Regions from separate parts of the Homo sapiens genome. Here regions 1, 2, 4 and 5 are each linked to region 3. The links are contacts of gene promoters, found by promoter capture Hi-C in blood cells and fetal thymus (Javierre and others, 2016). All regions are on one chromosome and are shown on one strand. The core of a region is centred on a gene start or on the middle of the fragment in contact, and the rest is flanking DNA. Distances in the headings are between cores, read along the strand shown.

Evidence for each region. The method cuts DNA at HindIII sites, captures the fragments that hold promoters and counts their contacts. A CHiCAGO score of 5 or more calls a contact.
Region 1: a fragment that was not itself captured here is called in contact with the fragment with the promoter of PDE3A in region 3 in 1 of 17 cell types (megakaryocytes); the score reaches 7.0 in megakaryocytes.
Region 2: a contact is called between a fragment that was not itself captured here and the fragment with the promoter of PDE3A in region 3, in 1 of 17 cell types (monocytes). The highest score is 6.6, in monocytes.
Region 4: a fragment that was not itself captured here is called in contact with the fragment with the promoter of PDE3A in region 3 in 1 of 17 cell types (monocytes); the score reaches 5.5 in monocytes.
Region 5: a fragment that was not itself captured here is called in contact with the fragment with the promoter of PDE3A in region 3 in 1 of 17 cell types (megakaryocytes); the score reaches 7.0 in megakaryocytes.

What each region holds. Positions count from the first base shown.
Region 1 is chr12:19,961,526-19,965,789 of GRCh38, reverse strand. No RefSeq gene overlaps it. Among named protein-coding and RNA genes, the nearest start is that of LINC02398, 51 kb to the left of the region's middle. The HindIII fragment of the contact is 597 bases long and covers 2,268-2,864 here.
Region 2 is chr12:19,880,967-19,885,228 of GRCh38, reverse strand. No RefSeq gene overlaps it. Among named protein-coding and RNA genes, the nearest start is that of LINC02398, 130 kb to the left of the region's middle. The HindIII fragment of the contact is 4,405 bases long and covers 713-4,262 here.
Region 3 is chr12:20,366,053-20,370,033 of GRCh38, reverse strand. PDE3A (phosphodiesterase 3A) reads right to left here and starts at 1,497. Exons shown (of 16, transcript NM_000921.5): 1 at 1-1,497. The coding sequence starts at 749. It overlaps PDE3A-AS1 (PDE3A antisense RNA 1), which reads left to right. Exons shown (of 2, transcript NR_186033.1): 1 at 1-193. RefSeq lists a silencer at 165-459. The HindIII fragment of the contact is 3,200 bases long and covers 1-1,755 here.
Region 4 is chr12:19,896,698-19,901,144 of GRCh38, reverse strand. No RefSeq gene overlaps it. Among named protein-coding and RNA genes, the nearest start is that of LINC02398, 120 kb to the left of the region's middle. The HindIII fragment of the contact is 9,213 bases long and covers 1-4,447 here.
Region 5 is chr12:19,928,267-19,932,268 of GRCh38, reverse strand. No RefSeq gene overlaps it. Among named protein-coding and RNA genes, the nearest start is that of LINC02398, 84 kb to the left of the region's middle. The HindIII fragment of the contact is 2,657 bases long and covers 1-2,616 here.

The DNA of each region.
Region 1 (4,264 bases), core at 1,317-3,816, 410 kb after region 3:
TTGTCATCTGTTTTGCTATCAGCTCCCACTTCCCACCAACACCAACCCTGTTCACTGGCTGATTTTATCTCCTAAATGCATTTGCAATGGTTTCACTCTAGGCTAGGCTACCTACATCTTTCACATAAGTAGTGAAAAATAGTCTCTTGTTTCCCTCTATCTTCCCTTTCCAGACTCCAATTAGTCTCCGCAATGCAGTCAAGCAGATCTCATGAAGATATAAATCTCACAGCCTTCTCTAAAACTTCTCCCACTGATATCTGGGATCCTGAGGCAAGAGTGACAGAGGCAACTACTCAGAAATCAGGATCCATGATCAAAGGAGCAACAGCAGTGTCAACCAAGAATGTGTTTTTAGCAAATCTTCCTACACACTCCCCCTATTCTCCAGCCATGGCAGTTATTAACCTTTCCAGAATACAATAAAGCCTCTGTGATTCTTGGCTTCTAAATGAACTTGTTACACTTTGTCTGATAAACTCGTACTTTTTCTTTAGGACTCTGTTCAATCCCTCTTGCCTCTTTTAGCCATCTTTGGCTGCTACAATGGTGGGTTAGCTGATCCTCAGACCTTCCATATTTTGTGTTTATACTCACACAAAATATAATTGTTTAAATACATGACTGCAGTTATGATGGCAATGACAGCCACTATGGGTAAAGAGTATTCATTCATTTGTTCTCAATTTTCAACAAATATTTTGGAGTGCCTACTATGTGCTAACACATGTAACTCTAGCATATGAAAGGAATACGGCAGAGACTCCGAAAGCATGTCCAGACTGAATTTTAGAAAAACTTTCTTTTGTCAATGTTCTCTGTCTTCTTTAGGAAAGAAAGAAGGGGCCAATGGTGTTTTTATCACCATTGTTGATGTTATAACTTTTCGATTTTTAATCTTCAGTGTCTAATACAATGCCTGGCACATAATAGGTGTTACGTGAATGTTTTCTGAATAGATGGACAAAGCCCTAGAAAACCCTTCCCATATTTTTTGCTAGGTGAACTCCAATTCATGCTTCACATTCAGGAAGCATTACTCAGCTCCCTCACACAATTTTGGCAGCCCCTCCATTAGCCTCCCAGAGCAAATGTGCATACCATTACAATACTACTTAATAGCATTTTAAAATCTTTTCAAGTACGTTTCTTCACTAGAGTGTGAGCTCTTGATATTATGTGTCTGGTTGACCCAGCATAATGAATTAATGAATGTAAGAACTACAATGAAATACAATATCTGAAAGTACACAAGAAACACCCATTAATTCTGAATTGAAGGATAGAAGGTTAGGTTTTTGAAGAAAATGGCATTTAGGTGAAAGATGAATAAAATGAATAAAACAAATGTTCAGGAGTTACATAAGGGACAAGGACAGGAACAGGCAGTCCAAATAGAGAATAGTAGAACAGCAGGGTCTGACAGTGCCAGTACAGGGGGTGACAGCAGAGTCTGGACCGCCAGGAGAGTGGAGGATTTGGAGATGCTGCAGGGAAGGTGCAAGAAAGGAGCTGGGAGCCAGGTTTTGAAAGGCTAATGCATGCTAAGAAACTTTGGTCACAGGGAGAATTTAAATGTGGTTTCAGAACGCAGCAGGCTGCTGAACATTAAAATCTACTAAGGTCAAGAAAGTGGTCGCTGTATTTGGTGAACAGAAAGTGAGAGCTTTCAGGAGACTGTTTTTGTTGGATATGAGAGTCAAAGATCAAAAATGCAAAGATTTCACAATAAGTGGAAATAAAACAGGTGCAAAAAGAGTAGCTCATTCTGAGAATTTTAGTAATGAAAGAAAATGTTTCAAAACAAGGACAAGAAATCAAAGCTGGTGAAAGGACATTAGACTTACGAGCAAGTCTAAGAAAAAGAAGCTAATTAATGGAGGCAATATCAAGAAATGGACAAAAATGAACAGTACAGCTGCTAAGATGATCCTTTGAAAGAAAGATGGCTATTTCTCCTTTAGAGATGGATTTCCAACCTTAAAAGATTCAGCATGCTATGCTTCTTTAGGAACTTTTTAATACAGTGCATGTGCTAAGGGTAAATATTAGCATCAAAGTATTTAATAACATTTTATTTATCACTTAAAGGGATAAAGACTGCGTTATTTTAGAAACGCAAAAATCTAGGCAGTATTGGCTGAGAGATGATCTCTAAATTTTTTTTGTGACTCTGAATTTCCTTGTCTATAAGCCTCTTCTAAATCAACAATCCTGACAGTTTTCAGTGTCAGAGATGTGGGAAGGTTAGTCGTTTACTATAAGCTTTAATGAACAGTGCTGGTAGATGTATTCAGTTTTATGTCTCTAAAAATGTCTTCCAAAGAGAGAAAGTTATCACAGTTAAAAGTTGTGAATTAATCTATATTCCTGTTACTGAGGATTATTTATTTTCCAAAGTCCAATGGCTGGCATACTGTGTTAGGAAACTAGTATAGAAATGTGCCATACAATTAAAACTTGATTTCAAGTCAATATACATTTCTTATTCCTGTAAGAAATTAGCAGAATGATGGCTCCCATGCACAGATCATTCAGTATTCTTAAGGTTCTGTCACAAAAACAAAAAATAAAATTTGCTGCTAAATATAAAGCTAGGTGAATCTTATAGTGGCAAAATTAAAAATTAAAGAAATAAATTCTTAGAAAATGAAATCAGTTACTTTACATAATCTGCTAAATGTTACTGTGTATAGTAATATCTTAAACTAGAAGAAAATTTCATTAAGTTCTTACAATTGCACCTTGATGATCAGGGTAATTTTTCTTTCCTTTTACCTTCCAAAAGAAATTTAACACTGTTATTGTCTATTATAAAAGTTATCTAAAATGATAGCTAGTGAGTTTTAACAACATACTAAGCTTAATATGAATTATCTGTAGTTTTGCCTTTTCCTCATCTTAAATTATCCAGCTTCTTCACTTTCAACCACTAATTCATTTTTTGTTTATCAATGTAGATATAGACACATCCTATACACCTCCAGATCCATCCCATATATTCTGTAAGGTAAGTTCAGTCGTTCTTTAGTAGGAATCTTTTCTTAACCTACATCATGCAAAAAAAAAAAAAAAAGAAGAAGAAATATGTTGACCTAATTGTCTTTTGGAGCATGTGATCTTCACAGCCATATTTACAATGTCTCTTTTTAAACGCTGATGTTCTTTTTAAATGCTGACGTTCTCCCTACTCTAGATTTAAAAGTTTTAGGGAAAACATACTAAAAAAAAAGGATGAGGGGGGCAGGTGGAAACCATCTAATGCTGTGTAGGATGATGACCTTGCTAGTTTTTTAATTCCATCGTGCTGGGCCTATCTTCCCATCTTGATTGATTAGCGCTTGATGGCATGGTAAAAGCCTGCAGCAATGTTAAAGGATTGCTGCTGCATCGCTTTGACATAATTCCAAAAAGTTGCCAATGACAGTCTGCTTACCCTGCCGCTCCAACCAGCTTCTGTTGTTTGTTATTTGCAGAAGTCGTTGCCAGGGTTTGGCTCTCAAGAAACCCTGAAGGTCAGATAAGTCTCTTAATGAGCAATGGGATGAGAGGGGAAAGGGCTGATGGCCCAATAAAAGTATCACCTACATCATTCTCATAGGTAGTTACCTAATCCACTTTCCAACAAGAATTTAAATAAATGGTTTTAAGTAAAATAAAATAGAATGGCTATATTCTTCTTTTTGTAAAACTGTGAAAGGACGTCCAACTGCAAGCATAAAAGTATTTTTAATTTAAACGGATTTATAGCACATTTGAAGGATAATATATACTAAGCCTCCAATAAAGTGGAAAAATATTTGAAGTAGCTCAAGAATTGCCTTGCTCCAAGATACAGCAAGTAATCCATTGTAGAGGATCCATTTTATAAAAATAAAATTAATCTTGTGAGTCACCAAGTATCGTCTCTAGTGACTGTATCAGTATACACATGAACAATAAATATGGAATTAATCTTTTTTGCCACCTAATATCCTAAGAAGGTAACATTTTTATTTATTTCTATAAAGATTATATGAATACTTACCCATGTGAGATTCAGCATACAAATGCAACAGGGATACAAAATATCTAAGCTAAGAAAGAGGTAGGAGTAAGAGTGTATTCTATTGTGTGTTAGAACCCTTGCATGTCTATACTCAGCATATGTATCACTCATTCAAGCACTTGTCAGAAACAAATAGTCCTATTTATACTCGCCTTCATTTTCAGGTTAGATTTTTTTCTTCAAGTAAGGTTTGATGCAAGTATCGTAGTAGTTTTG
Region 2 (4,262 bases), core at 1,666-4,165, 490 kb after region 3:
AAAAAATGCTATTCTTAACGGGTTAGAATGCAGCTTGCAACATGAGAAAGACCTCAAGGAGTTTGACATATATTCTGTCAATGACGATAACATCCAATGACAGAGGATGCAAAGTGTTGCAGACCTGTGGATGTGAAAGTCCTGTCACGTTATCTAGGACCATACACTATCAAAATTACTCAGACACACAACAAATGCATGGAAAAATAAAAATTCGGCATTGCTCCTGTTCAGAAAACAAATTTCAGAGATAGGATCAGGACCTTAGGGACTGTGGCATCCATCAAATGATGGACAAAGCATGGTTCTATTTTATTTGCTAAGCACTGCCCAGGCGGGCTGGTGTCCATCCACTTCTGCCCTCAGAAACACCTGCCCTACCCCTGGACTGGAGTTGAAAGAGGTGGGCAAGAAGGGGCACAAGAAAGTTGGTTTAAAATAAAAATTTTGGCTAAAGATGTGGGATCCAGAGGTAACCGGAAAGAACCCTCAGTTGTCTTTATTCTGACACTGGCACCATAAATATACTCCATGAAATTCTACCAATGCTATCAGAAAAACAAAAGAGGCAATGGTATGTTTAAGTTGGTAGTAAGGTCTGTTTAATATTTTGTTTACCAATTTCATTTGTGTTTTCACAATGAAAATGCAAAACTAAATTTTACTACCCAGCATGTTTGCTAAAAATAAATGCATAGTTTAATAATAAGCTTATTTTCAACTGCATACTGTTCTCTTTTCTGTAAATCCAGTCCTAAGCAACCCTGATTTTAAATTGAAAGGGAAGTTCACTCTCCTTTTTGTGTAATTTCTAAAAATAGTTTGCTTAGCTAAATATGTAGGTCCTGCAGAATTGGCTAGATTTATGAAACATTCTTTAATAAACCAAACAATGACTATATAAAAAGCAGATGCAATACCTTTGTAATTCAATTTTATAGTTTAAAAATATTCTACATGGAAGTGCCAAATTCTGCCCTACAGAGACACAGGGCTCCCACTGACGTCAATGAGAGCCAGGCACCCACAAAGGAGGGCAAAACTATGCCCTGAGCACTTAAATTTAGTAATCCATTAGGCGCGGTGAGGAAGAAAAAGATCAGCTCAAATACCTCTCATCAGCATTTAAATTTGCCAGTGTTAAATGCTCTTGGAAGCATGTTTAAACCTACAGAGCTTATAGATGTAGGAAGAAACACAGGAGCAGAAGGATTTTTTCACATAATAATTTAATTGGAATTTTATGTACACTTCTATTCCCAAGGATAAGTATGCCTTTATTCCTTCTCAGACATTTTTTTTTAACCATTTCAGATGACTGAAGAGTCTGATTTCCTAAAATAAAAGGTAGAACTTGTGGTTGTATACACAAGGAAAAGTGTCTTTCCTTAAATGAGTAAAAAGAGGATTTATACATAACTAATGACTACTTCTGAGGTAAGCCAGCACTCCTGTATTCACTTGAATTAGAAAAGGGAAAGATAATGGGAAAAGAGAAATGTTACAAGTTGCAAAATCGAGTGATATTTCCAGGGAAGCCACTTACTTCCTGTAGAACTTTAGTGCCGCAACTTACAGTGAGCTATTATCTTAACTGTACATTGTTGAAATAAAGTGAGGATGCAGTACCACACTTTAAATGTAAAAGCACTTTAAAGAATTAAATGTATCCTAGAAAAATGAAGTAGTAGTAGCAGAAACATCATCTGGATATAGTCTTGAAATTCAAAGACTCTACTATTAATGACATTATCTTGCCAGATTCTGTCATTAATGGAATTTTCCACAAGAGAGTTAATTCCCTGACTGCTCTGTAAATTTTAAAAATCTTTGAGTCACACCAGCTGAGTTTAGTTTTAAAGCATGACAAGAGGTAGACAATCTTTTCCTCAACTATATCTTCCCTCTTTCTAGTCTCTTCCCTTTTTACTTCTTGCTGCCAGAATAATCTTACTAAAACAATGTGCTTCTCAGTGAAAATACTTTTACTGCCTCTCCAATTAACCACAGAGCAAGTCTGAATGCCGTAAGCTAAGAACCAAGGTTCTCTTTAATTTGGACCCCACTCTCCAGTAGCCAATCTGCACTATTCATAGTCCTCCTATAAAGGCCTCCATACTCACCCTTCCTGTGCCTTTGCCACTTTGCTCTGTCTGCCAACAACCACATCTCTAGAGGTCACCGTTTAGATTTATTTCAAAGTCAGATTCACAAATCACCTTCTCTACAATGTCTCCCACAATCTCTTGCTCCCAGCTAGAAGTACATTATTCCTCAACTGAACTCCGCCATAGCAGTTACCTTGTACTTCCCTTACTGCATGAATGACTTTCCTTTCAGTTTTAATTACTAATGTGTGATTTATTTTTCTTATTAGCCTATACACCCCTTATAGGCAAGTTGTATATTTAATTCATACTTTTTTAATCATAAAATACCTAGACTAATAATTTACTAGCATTACAAGAGTCAAAGATATTTGCCAGCAATGAAAAGGATTGGTATACAATGTTATAATTATTGTTGGGAAAACAATCATTATAACCCAAGTCAAAATAGAGTAAAATGCTGGCTCCATCTCAAGAGTGGTCAGAGAGCCAAGGAGGACTATAAAATGTTCTGGCGCAAGTGGCTTCTAGTCTGGCAACAGCTTGCAGTGAGAATTTCCTCCCTGGGATCATGACTTTAAATGTGAAAACATCATTTGTTATATTATTACTGGTGAAAGATAAAGAGAGAGGTAGCTGAGGAGACATCTGTGCTATCACCACCTAATCCTCACAACTCATCTGAATGCTGCTCTCACTGACTTGAGAAGCACGGTAGTTTTATAAAAGACAGACTCACAATAATGCATACGAGGAAAGTTCTTCTTCTTTTCCCTGACACAAGCAAGTCCATGACACAGTATTCTATCTCTTGTTTCTGTCCCCTAGGGGACTGAGAATCAGAGACCTTGGGCACAAAACCAGGTAAAAGACAAGAAATATGATGCCTTGGTCAGATGGCTGCTAATTAGTTTAAAGGAAACAGTTTTCAGAGGAAGTAATCAATTGAGATGCCATTGGAGATCCCTTAACCATTTCCAGCCCAGTGGAACCTGATCAGCTGATTCACCTGTCACACTTATGGAGCATGCAAATACTGAGACTACCTTTTCAGGGTTTCTGGTTTAGTGAAAGAGTCCTAGAGATTGAGCATTTGTACTTTTAAAAAGCACTCAGGACACTCTTTTGCATCAACTGGAGATAAAGATTCAAGTTGAGTTTAAAAGCTATTTTCCTTTTAAATTCCAGTACCCTCATGTAGTAAAACTAGATCATTGTGTCAACAACATAAAATGTCCAATCATGGCTACTATGTTCACCAAAGTAAGGCAATCAGAATAAACAGTGGATATATACAAGATAAAAATATTTTATTGAGTGTATTATTGATTAATCAGTTATACTCGCAGGCAGAATTTGCAAGGAGGGGGCATGTATATAAAAGCTAAGGAAAGTTTGCTAACCTAAAAACAAAACTACTTTTACTTTTTTTTTTTTTTTTTTTTTGAGACAGAGTCTCTCTCTGTCACCCAGGCTGGAGTGCAGTGGCACGATCTCAGCTCACTGCAACTTCCGGGTTCAAATGATTCTCCTGCCTCAGTCTGCCGAGTAGCTGCGACTACAGGCTCATGCCCCCATGCTCGGCTAATTTTTTGTAATTTTTAGTGGAGACAGGGGTTTCACCATATTAGCCAGGATGGTCTCGATCTCATGACCTCATGATCTGCCCGCCTTGGCCTCCCAAAGTCCTGGGATTACAGCATGAGCCACCGCACCCAGCCTCTTTTATATTTTGTAAGAGAATCACCTCTCTGGCCGTAATACAATAGAATTTCATTAATACAATCAATACTTTTGTTTTGAAACGACACTGTGTTAAGTAGGTAAAGTACGACATACATATTTATCAGATCACTTAGGATATTCCATGCAGCACACAGCTGCCTAATTCATTTCTCTCTGCTCCATTTTCCAAATTTGCATAAGTAAAAAGGCATATGTAAGGCTTATTTTTTCCCGCAAATTCTACTGTTTTCTCTCTCCTCCTCTTCTCCAATTATTTCTTTCTTTGCCTTTACTATTAGAAGCAACAACTGAGTCTCATCATTTAGATGTTGTTGCTAGAAGAAGCCACTGTGAATTATACATTTGAATCTAATCTAATCTATCTATAATGCCTGAGCCTTACAAAACTTGGCTGCAAATAGCATTCTC
Region 3 (3,981 bases), core at 248-2,747:
AGGATCCCCAGCACGCCGGCCAGGTACGCCAGGTAAGGTCTCCAGGCGACCTTGAACCTCTCTAAGGAAATGAGGGACACGGTCCTGACCGCGCTAGTCAAGGCGATCATGAGGACGCCCAGCCTCAGCCTCAGCACCAGCCATGTCGCGGCGGCCAAGCAGCTGAGCACCACCCCCGCGGCGGGGAGTGAGAGTAAGTGATCCTCCCCGACGCCCAGCCCAATCTGGACGAGCGCTTCCCCCCCGCAGCAGGCGGCCAGCAGCGCGACAGCCAGAGGCAGGCGCACCCCGGCGCGCAGGAGGTACAAGCCCATCCAGAAGAAGGCACACAGGAGACTGAAGAGCAGCGCCGAGGGCTGCAGCCAGGGGCTGAGCCGCGCACCGCCCCCGGGAGCACCTCCCCGAGGCCCCGGGAAGACGCCCCCTTCTGCTCCCGGGGCTGCTTCCTCCTCCTCCGCCGCCGCCGCCTCCTTACACTGCTCCAGGTCACAGCCGACCTCCCCGCGGACCAGCCTCACCAGCAGCGCCAGCAGAAAGGACAGGGAGCCCGCGCACAGCGCGGAGGAAAGTTTCCGAGAGCTCCGGAGCGGCTGCAGCACCAGGTCTCCCCAGCAGCCACGGCAGCCCGAGTCCCGCGGCGATGCGGGGTCCGCACGATGGTGGCAGTCCCGGCCCGCCGTGGGGGCTTGACTCACCCCACTGTGGACGGGCTTGTCCCTGACTCGTGCAGCGTCGCCGGGCACTGCCATGGTATAGGGTGCCCTCTTCACTGAATTCCCAGTGGCCCCCCGACGCCCCCGCCCCGACCCACGCGCGCGCGCGCACACACACACACACACACACGCACGCACGCTCTTCCCAATTCCACCCTCGGAATCCTTCTTCTCCCCAGGCCCACAATCCACTGAAAGTTTCAGCTTTCGAATAACTCCTGGAGAATGCTAGATGCTCCAATGAGACTTCTTCAAGTTAAAGGCTAGCACGCTCAAGTTGAAAACAAGCACGGGCAGAAACGATCAGGATTCCCCTTTTCTCTCTTTGAATATCTTTCACAGATTCTCTGCTCCACCCCCACCCCCGACTTATATCCTCCGGGGTCTCTTCCTACTTCAGGATTTCAAAAATTGCCCAATGCATCCCGCGCGCAGGAGCCGCTGACGCTGGAGGAGCCGGGGGCGCAGGGCGGGCTCCGGGCCATTCCGAGGCGCAGCTCGGCGCTGCGCTGCGCTGCAGCGCGCCGGGCCCGCGGCAGATGGAGGTCTCCCTTCTCCTCCTTCCTGCAGCTCTTTTTCTATCACTCTTTCTTTCTCCTCGGCCGATTCTCCCCGGCACGGCCCCAGGACGCGAATCGCCATTCCCTGGGGCAGAAAGCAAAGCCTCCCCCGCCTCTGTCAATCCAATTCATGGCAAAGGATGGAAAAAAAAAAATGGACAAGGGGCTGAGAAATAAGAAGTTGCTAAGTCCCGTCGGAGAGAGAGCCAGACCGAGAGACTAGCGGCAGCCGCAGAAGGGAGGGAGGGAGAAGGAGCGAGTAAGAGAGGAAGGGAGGGTGAGAAGAAAGGGAGGGTGAGAAGGGAGAAGGAGATTTGCTTTTTTTTTCCCTCCCCACTTCTATTTGATGCAAGGTTGGTGGTGATTTGCAGTTTTGCAAAGGGGAAACGAGTGGCGACGACTGCTTAAAATTGTATAAAACTGGCAACTGGAGTGATCGACAATTCCGCTTTCTTTCTTTAAGGCAACTCCCTAGGAAAGCTTTCTCAGCCGAGCTCCCGCCCCCTCCTGCGGAGGAGGCGCTACCCTCAGCTCGATTGCTCCTTTGCTGGGAAAGCGGCCGGTTCACCCTACAGGCTGGAGCAGGGGCTGCTGAGGCTGATCCACCGCGCAGCCCACCGCAGCCCCGGGGTGTGGGGGGCTGCGGCTAGCCCTGAGGCTGAGCTCCCTAGAACGTTGGAAGGAAAAAAAAAAAAAAAAGATTGTGTTTGCCTACTTGGCAGATGAGAGCCAACATACTTTCTACTGTCCCTGAAAATGACAGCCACTTCTACTGTCTGATTCAAAGATGTTCCCAAGTCAGGTACAACAGCAGTCCAATTTCAGGTGACAGTGTCATCCTTTGGTCGCTCCTGCTGGAAGGTCTGCTTTATGAGAACCCAAGCCTGGCCTGTTGGTTCAAATGATGGAAGAATCAGCCTTACCTAGACCACAATAGTATAAAAAGAAAGGAAGGAGAGGCAGCAGTCATTTAAATCCAGTGCATGAGTATTACACAATAGTTTTTGACTGTGGAAAGTAAAATTACATTGAGATTAAGTGACCGTATCCTCAAAAAAGGTTAACAAAGTTTAAAAGCCCAGATAGTTCATCAAAAAATAAAGAAAAATCTCAAGGGAGAGGTGAGGATAGGTGGGTTAACACTAGGAGAGATCTTAGAAGACTGTCTATGGCTGCAAAATACTACATCTTCGAGCAAAGCATATGAAAAAAATCAGGACCTTAGTTATTAATGAGTAAAGGTTCGTGTACTGCAGCAGTGTGATATTTGAGAAACTAAAAGAAAATTTTCAAGCTAACCTTTTTTTGGCAGATTATGAAAAAGAATTCAGTATCTGTTCAATGGACTTAAACTCTATTGATGTTCCCTGGGATCTAGTTGTCTTTTTAATATGATACTCCACTTTTAACATGGCTATCTTAGATGTCATTTGCCCTCACTAATAATAATCTTAATAATCCAATTTTGTCTTAATTATCTTGACATTCCAGGTTAAAGTGTATTTACAGCCTAGAGCATTTAGATAATTGATTCAATATGCCACTGTATTTTGTATGTAGACATGAAGCAATAAAAAAAGCCAAAAGGAGATCCTTGAGATAAAATTAATTTATGGGGACAGGGGGAGAAGATGACTTAAGTTTTAAACAGCTTCATGGGAAGCAGCCTGTTCTAGTAGAAGGCAGATATACTATAAAGGTATAGCTTCTCTCTGTCAGATGTCCAGAATTGTGCTACCACACAGGAGTATGAGTTGGGCAGCTAGTCAATGGCAGTGGGCACCATCTGTTTAATAATTAAGGAAACAGGAGCAGCAATGTCTTTGCCAAAGACAAATGAGCCCCCTAGCACGCACACATACTTTCATGAGTTTCCTTTTTAGACATATGATTCATATGCCAGATCCTACCTGGGACACATCGGAGTGAAAAACCTTGATTGGAAAATCATTCATATCTGTTGGCATCAAAAATAACATATTAAAATAATAAACCAAAAATCTGGCATATATCAAGGTTAAAAAGAAAAGCATAGTAAGGGAAATTTTAGAATATTTCAATTTTATCTGTCCCCTACCCCCACAATTATCTCAGTTCTTTAGAAAATTTAATATAATATTATCATAAAAACTGAACACTTAAGGTATGGGAAGCAGATGTTTTTTAAAAGTTGTAACAGGAAAAAATGGCATTTGCTAATGGCAGCAAAACAAGAATATTCTAAATCCATGTGTTAATAACATCCTGGAACTCTTCAATAAAATAAGGAGGCAATGTCCTGGCATCCAGGTTTCTTTAACAAATCATAATCAAAAAGTTATTTGTCCCATCAAAAGGAAAGAAGGTAGATTTTTCTCCCCATACCATCCAGAACCCAGAGGCAAGTGAACAAAGACAACAAAATGCTAATGTTAGAGAGATGCAGAAACCTGCAGGGCTATACTAACTGAAAGAAGCGACTAATAATGTACCTTTAACAGAGTATATTAAATGAAATAAGCTGCAATACATAAACTGGATAGGGAGCAATCACATATAAACACTGCCTCTTTTCTACAGATAGTGGTGAGTCCTAGTTCAAGAAAGTGACAACACAGCCAAAGAATAAGGAAAATGTTGTACGTGCAGAAAAATAGTAGAGCATGGACAACAGAAATAAAAATTTAAGTTTTACTTGATAAATCTTCCACTTAGTCAAATCTAGCAAA
Region 4 (4,447 bases), core at 1,315-3,814, 470 kb after region 3:
GCATTTATATAAAATCCAAAAAAACCTACAAATAGTTTTTTAATGAGGAAAACTTAGCATTGTTCCTGGATACAAAAATCAATATAAAAACTTATTTCTACAAACAATTATAAAATAAAATTAAAAGTGGTACTATTTACAATAGTATCAAAAATAAAAAGTACCTAAAAATAAATCAATGAGCATATATATAAGACTTCTATAGAGAAATTTATGCAACTAATTGAGAAACAGTAAAAAGGACCTAATAAATGGAAATTAAAAACATGTTCAGGGGTTGATAGCTCCCTATTATAGCGATGTCAATTCTTCCCAGCTGAATGGATTCAATTCAATTGCAAACAAAATTTCAATAGTCATTTTATAGAGTTTGACAAGCTGATTCTAAAATATACACAAAAGTTCTAAAGTCAAGAATAGCCAAAATACTTTTGAAGAAGTACAAGGTAAGGGAACTTGCTATAACAGATGTCAAGACTTATTTTAAAACTGAAGTAAATAAAACAGTGTGGTACTAGCCCAGTGACAGAGAGCTCAGAGTCAGGCCACATTGGTATGGGCATCTGTATATGACAGAAATACCAGAATCTATTAGTAAAGTCATGGCAGCTTTTGAAGTAAATGGTGCCAGGAAAATTGAATATCCATGTAGGGTAAAATAAAATCAGACCCTTAGTCACAAAATGTACTAAAGCCAATCAGATAAAGACCAATATTAAAACGGTAAAATTATAAGTATTTATAAAATAATAGAGAAACATATCTATATGACTTTAAGGTAGGGAAAGATTTCTTTCTTTCTTTCTTTCTTTCTTTCTTTCTTTCTTTCTTTTTTTTGAGACAGAGTTTCACTCTTGTTGCCCAAGCTGGAGTGCAATGGCACGATCTTGGTTCAGTGAAACCTCCGCCTCCTGGGTTCAAGCAATTCTCCTGCCTCAGCCTCCCAAGAAGCTGGGATTACAGGTGCGTGCCACCACACTTAGCTAATTTTTTGTATTTTTAGTAGAAATGGGGTTTCACTATGTTAGCCAGGCTGGTCTTGAACTCCTGACCTCAGGTGATCTGCCTGCCTCGGCCTCCCAAAGTGCTGGGATTACAGGCATGAGCCACCACGCTCAGCCAAGATTTCTTAAATAAGGTGCAAACAAAATTATTCATGAAGGAGTGATTGATACATTTTTTATGTAACGTTAAGGACATCTTCTTATCTAAAGAACTATAAAGAAAAAAATTACAAAAAAGAGAGAAAGATATTTGCAATGGACAAACAAAAAACTGGTAACTGGAATATTAAAATCATTTCTATAAATAAATTTTTAAAAGATAATACAGAAGAAAAATGGGCAAAATTGTAACTAGGCAAAATAACAAAAAAAACTAAATGACAAATAAATGTACAAAATGTTGCTCAATTTCATTAGTAATAAGGGACATGCAAATTTCCACAATCATTATATATTCATCAGGCTAACAGAAATTTTAAAAATTTAACTATACTAAGTGCTGGTAAGAATGTGGCAATGGGAAATCCCATATATTGCTGGAAAACCATTTGACATTTTTTGGTAAAATTGAAGATTTGCATTCCTTCCACTTAACAATTTCATGTCTAGAGAAATTAGTATAAATGCACACTCGAATACAAGTACAAGGACAGTCACAGCTGGAAACAAGCCAAATGTCTTCCAATGGTAGGACAGATATAAATGTGGTGTAGTCATACAATGAAATACTATACAGCAATGAAAATAAACTTTATGCTATAGCATATATGACTGTGAATATGTCTCATAAATGTAATACTGAGATACAGTTGGTAGGCAAAAAGAAATATATGAGGCCATTCAAGCAGAGTTTCTTTTTTAAAGAAACAACTAAACTAAAATGCAGTTTTTAGAGATGGATATGAGGGATTAGTGCTCCCTACTTTTCTTTACAGTTTTATGAGAAAAGACCACAGAATGGATATCTCTAGGTCAAAGAGATGAGGTTGTGATGAGAGAGGGACAAACATGGTTGAGGACTTCCTGGGAGCTGGCTACATTGTATTTCTTGACCTCAATGGTGATTGTACAGTGTTTACCACATAATTATTTGTCCACATGACAAGTATTTGTTTTATACATTTTTCTACATACATATTATATTTCATAATAAAGAAAAAACAATAGAAAACAAAGTAATATATTTTCTAGGTTCTTCTTCACTGAAATCTTGAGTTTTCATTCTGTTCTACCAAATAGCTATCGTGCAATTTCTTATATTTTATAGGTTATATTTTCCCATTTAAATGCATTCCCTGTATTATTGAACTTTGTTCCCTGAAGAATATAAGACCTCTCATCATGTTTAGCTGTATTGTAACAATCTGAATTTATATTTAAAAATGCGTAATATGTGGAATGGCAGTCTTCTCCAATGCCCACCTCCAAAGCTAGTTAATATGAAAATCTGACCTGACATAGAAAACACAACAATAACATGAATATGCAAAGGATATATCGGGTTTTTTTCTATCTACCAACAGATGAATCTATGTAAGTGGCAAGGCCACTTTTGTACATATATGACGTAGATTCCAAATATACGTAAAGGCTTAGAGCAATCTAACAAAATTGAATACCCAAAAGATGTTATCCTTGCACATAGTTTTCCAAACTTTCACCAAAAATATTATTCTACAGAAGATATAAGAAACCTTAGGGTTTCAAATTAATGGCTTTAAGTGCTGGATTTTTGTCCATTTTTAGAAAATATCAGTCCCACGCATTCTATAAAAGGCAATTATACTCAATCCCATAGTATCATCTCAACCCCATACATTAAAAAATGAAAATGAAAAATGACATTAATGGACACACTAAAAAACGTTGCAGTAGTAACACTTTTAAAATACAGTTATCATGTAGCTATATTAGTCTGACATTACCCTGTGCCTAGAATCTGTCTTCTCAATTCTATTTTGAGACTTTTGGTCATTTCTCTGATAGCAATGCCAATAAAGCTGCCAGTTACCATTAATCTCAGTTCTATGAAAGAATAAATCATTCTCACAAGCAATTAAACAATAAACACATTAAAATAAGACCAATTAGAGCTAAGACTAGACATTTACCACATAGTTATAACACAGGCTTGTCATAATCATTTCAGCTTTAACTGGACACTTCTTCAATAATTCTTTCTAACAGAAGCAAGATAAGATTTTGCTGTGGGAGTACCCAAATTCAGTAGAGTTTAAATTGAAATACTTAATCAGGAATTTCAATCATATGTCTGCAAGACTTTCCTTTGTACATTAATTTGTATGCCCACGATTTGTCCTATGCTTTGTTTGCCAATAGTTTACCATGTGCAGCATGCTCTGAAGTTTGTAACTGTGCCAGCTCTCTTTCACATTTCCAATCTTTTAATAAATTGCTTTGCAAAGACAATGAAAGCTCACAGTCAGTGGCCACATGTAATTTTTTTCCTTTAGGTAGTCTTCATTATATAGACAACTGGTTTCAAGTTGTTTTAATAACTTGGCCCTTTGTGGGTATCAAAATGTCTAAGTTCTTCTTCTTGAATTCCTTAGGCAGTCTTTACAAATGTATCAGTAAGTTATTGCTTCATATGTAACTTTGTAATACTATAAATATATGAATAAACGTAGGCAATTTTCAGAGGAACTATAAATAAATCCTTAATTTCTCAAGATTTTATTGTTGCCCAGTTATATATGCCATATTTTATCACCAAAAAAATACTCATTGATCCTCCTAAGGAAATAGGGAAATAGTGTAGCTCTTTATTGAATGGCTTGTGGGCAACAGCAAATTCCAATTTTTTCCACTCACTAATAGAGAAACTGCTTCTCATTAATCTAGCAAAAGGAGAGAGAAGCTGTAAATACAGACAGAGAACTCCAGTTTTGTTAAGAGATTAGGGTTTGGGAGAGGAAATTTGATGAGGCAAAGGGAGCTCTCACTGAAAATTCAAACAAAAACAAAAATGCTTAGGTGTAGCAAGTGCATCTGGGAATTATGAAATGCCAGGGCCAGGAATGGTGGCTCACACCTATAATCTCAACACTTTGGGAGGCAAATGCAAGAAGATTGCTTAAAGCCAGGAGTTCAAGACCAGCCTTGGCAACATCTCTACAAAAATAAAGAGCCAGATGTCATGGCATGCACGTCACAGCTACTGGAGGCTGAGGTAAGAGGCGTGCTTGAACCCAGGAGCCAAGTCTGCAGTGAGTTATGATCGCACCACTGCACTCAAGCCTGAATGACAGAGTGAGGCCCTGTCTCTGGGGAGGACGAGGAGGAGGAGGAGAAGAAGAAGAAGGAAGAAGAAGGAAGAAGGAGAAGGAAGGAGGAGGAAGGAGGAGGAAGAAGGAGGAAGAAGGAGGAAGGAGGAGAAAGGAAGAAGGAAGAAGGAAAGAAGAAGGAAGAAGGAGGAAGAA
Region 5 (4,002 bases), core at 39-2,538, 440 kb after region 3:
TTCCTATATAAGCACACACATACAGATCAAATAGCAAACACATTTCTCATTCTGAGAGAAAAATACACTAAACAGAGGTCAGAAAGTAAGATTTTTCCTTTTTTTATCTCAATTTAGGATTTTTCAGTTAGTCTTTTGTATCAGTTACTAAAAGGAATGATTATCCACCCTGGGGGAGACCTATTTCCTAGGTAAATAATGAAAAATGGTAACACCTTTTGAAAAATCTGCTTTGCATTTGCTATTCATTGGCGACTTTGTCCTATGACGAATTAGAACCCATCACATTCCATAAAATTCTTCTTCATGCCCATCTGGAAATGTAACATGTTTGAGCCACATAATTTCTCCAAGCAAGAGCCTTACCATTTGGAGATGATTGAGAGTACACAAAGACGAAAATTCTACAAAGTCAAATATTTTAAGGCTGTAGAAATTAATACTTGAGATCACAGTTTAACCAAATACTTTCATTAAATACATTAAAGGGCACAGAAATTTTCCAATACTCTTTGTCATGAATAAATTTTTCAAGTCCAGTTGTCCTTGACGTTGCTGGGGCTTTTTTTACAGCCCTTCTGTAGACACTTTCTTTCCAGTGCTGGAATGGTCTGTGAGAGCTGGTTGCAAAGGTCTGTCACAAATAAGTAATTTCCATGTGGGCAGATGTTGTGCTAGTTTTCTGCCTGCTTTGCTGTCAGTCATTAAAGTACCTAAAATCAGCAATGTTTTGACAAATATCAAGTAATTAAATGATTATAGCTGTAGCTAACTTTTCAAAAAACATTTAAAAAGGCCCTGTCAAGTGGATGAGTTCATGTAGTCTCCTTTCTTAATTGCCCAGAAGTGTTTCTAATAATGTGAGAGCTTTTGCTGAAAGAAGAGCTCTTAATGATGAAATGCGGAATGCTTTAAACAAGTATCATCTAAATTAGAAAATAAAAACATCAAGTTCATTAAAAGAAATGTACTACCCAAAGATTTGGGGCCAGGAAGAAATCAACAGGCTATTCAGTGTTTTCTGAGGACAAAAAAAAAAAGTCCTTTGTATTCAAAAACAGTACACATGACTGTTCCTTTGTGCCCTTTGAGTTTGTTTTCCTGTAATTGTGATCAGTTCATATTAATTTATCCATACTCTCTCCCTTGTTTCCCCTTACTTGTGAGGCAGGGCTTTATAGGCCATTGCCAAAATGAGAAGAGAATCGTGTTTGAGCCTTAATGATTGCATTCCATATCATCATTATCATCATTATCATCATCATCATCATCATTACCTTTATCATTATCATAGAATACTGAAAAACAAGTAACAAGAGCATTAAATATATTTTGGAAAAAATATAGTTTCTAATTATTTAATCAATGCAATAACAAGAATGGCTAACATTTATTCATTGCCAAGAAATGTTCTAAGACTTTAATCCTCCTAACAATTTAGTGAATTAAGTAATATTATTAAACCGATGTTAAAGAAGAAAACTGAGGTACAAAGAAGTTAAACATTTTGCTAAGGTCATATGGCTGGTAAATACTAGAGTCAGGACTGAAAAGTAGGCAGGCTAGCTTCAAAGTCCATACTCTTAACCACTGTGCAATGATGCTATGAAGCAAATTAAATTGGTTCAATAGTATGCTCTTGAGAGCTCATTATCTAAACTGAGCTTACCAGTCACAAGTAAGTCTTACATAACAATTTAGATGTATTCTCAAAGGTCTTCATAAAATCAAAGCAGAATCATTTTTATCTGATATAAAATATGCCCTAGAGTTGCAGATAGGTCTAATTTATAAGACTAATATAAGAGATCAACTAAACGACTGTTATATTTATTATATTGATCAAAATTAGCTGTAACACAGTGATAGGAGTCTACTGTAAGAGCCCAAGTAAAAGATAATATGGTATAACCAAGGGCAAAGATAGTAGGGATAAAGTGGAGAAGAGGCATAAGAAAGGCATTAAATAGAATGTGTAAATAAGACTTGTCAATTGATTAGATATTAGTAGTAAGAATGAGTTCTGGTAGTTATAGTCTCTGTGATGAAGAATACAAAAAGGAGGTATACATATGGGTCTAGGTCAAATGGGGAGACAGAAATCACACAGTACTTTAAATAGAGAAATGTTAACACATAGAATTATTAGCTAAAATAAGGGATAACCTACTAAGAAGCAAACTTTGAAGACAACAGAAATGGTAGATATCCACTAGCAGCCACTACCTCTGGGGCTAGGATATAACACCCAAGGAAGCAACAAATCTGAAGGAGACCTTCATCTCCCACCAAAGTTGAATTCCAGACCTTGACAGAGAAATGCAGCCATGGCCCAGTGATGATAAAGTATTTTGCTAGCATCCCACACCAGCAGAACACATTAGGATTCCAACAGCTGGGATGCTGGAGGGAATGACACATAAGAGGTGCCAGGATGCAGAAACCACTGGAAAGCTACTCTTGGGGTACTGAGGAAAGTGGCCCACAGGAAAGTGTCAATCACTGCTGGCTGCTGACCATGGTGTGCTGCTGGAGCCTATAAAGAGGAGCACATGAACCAGGAAGAGAAACCTCTCCTTCCTGTAGTGCCCTTCAAAATTCACTACTGACAAAGCTTAACATCATGCCAGCTGACAAGGGAGAAATGCTGACAGGAACTAGCTCCATTATCATAGAGAAGGCAATAAAGAGAAGAATTGGAGCTGAGAAGCAATCGATTGAAAGCTGGCACAGTATGTGCAGAAACCATGTGAATTCTATTAAGGACATTTTGAGTGTGAGATGCCTTTTCGGATACCCATATTGGATGAATGGGTCTTGAAATCTAGGGAACAGCTTGAACTGGAGGTACAGATTTTTAGACTATCAACAGATAAGTGGCAGGTAGAGCCTTCAACATGGATGAAAATGGGTTTTTGAAAAAAAAAAATGCCAAGGGCACAAGGGAAACAGCACATATCAAAAGCAGGCATAGAAAAAAGAGCCTACAAAGTAAACCAGTAAATAAATCATAAGAACAGATTTATGGTTCAAATGTGACGCAAAAGAGTTGAATGACTTAAAGTGTTATGTAAAAGAAAAACTGAAAATTTTCATTAGATTTGACAAGAGGTAAATTTAGTAAAAGAACTTTCATGTACAGGTAATAATGAAGCCAAATTGCAATAGATCATGAATAGTGAGGAAACAGAGATGGAAAACTTGTATTATTTTTTTCACTAGGGTGGTAATTCAAAGAGAACGAAGTGTGAATGGAGACGTTTTGTTTGCTTTGGTGTGCGAGAGAGAGAAAAATGAAAAAATGGTAATGTGAAAGAAGTTTGAGAATGTGAAGAATCCAATGCAAATCAGGAGATCCAGGAAAGAGAGGAGACAATTGATGAAGTGAGTACTGCAAAAGCAGCACCTACATTAAGGGAATCAGACTCAAACAGGAGTAAAAATACCTCTTCCTTAGGAAAGTTTTCAATTAGTGAACACAAATAAATGGTAGAATTTGCATCCACTCTAAAATAAACTTACTATACCACCCAACCACATACAATATATTCATTGAATTTTGGAGCTTGAAAAGAACCCAGAGCTTCTCAAATGCTGATCCACAAACCAGTAATGTCAGAATGGCATGAAGGAAGCTCTCTTTCTGAGGATGCCTTAGGAGCTAATTTAAAAGACAGGGGGTGGGGCAGGCATGGTGGCTCATGCCTGTAACCCCAACACTTTGAGAGGCTGAGGGGGCAGATCACGAGGTCAGGAAATCGAGACCATCCTGGATAACATGGTGAAACCCCGTCTCTACTAAAAATACAAAAAATTAGCCAGGCGTGGTGGCACGCACCTATAGTCCCAGCTACTCGGGAGGCTGAGGCAGGAGAATGGCGGGAACCTGGGAGGTGGAAGTTGCAGTGGACCGAGATCGCACCACTGCACTCCAGCCTGGCAACAGAGCAAGACTCCATCTCAAATGAATGAATGAATGAATGACAGGGGGATTCTAGCAAC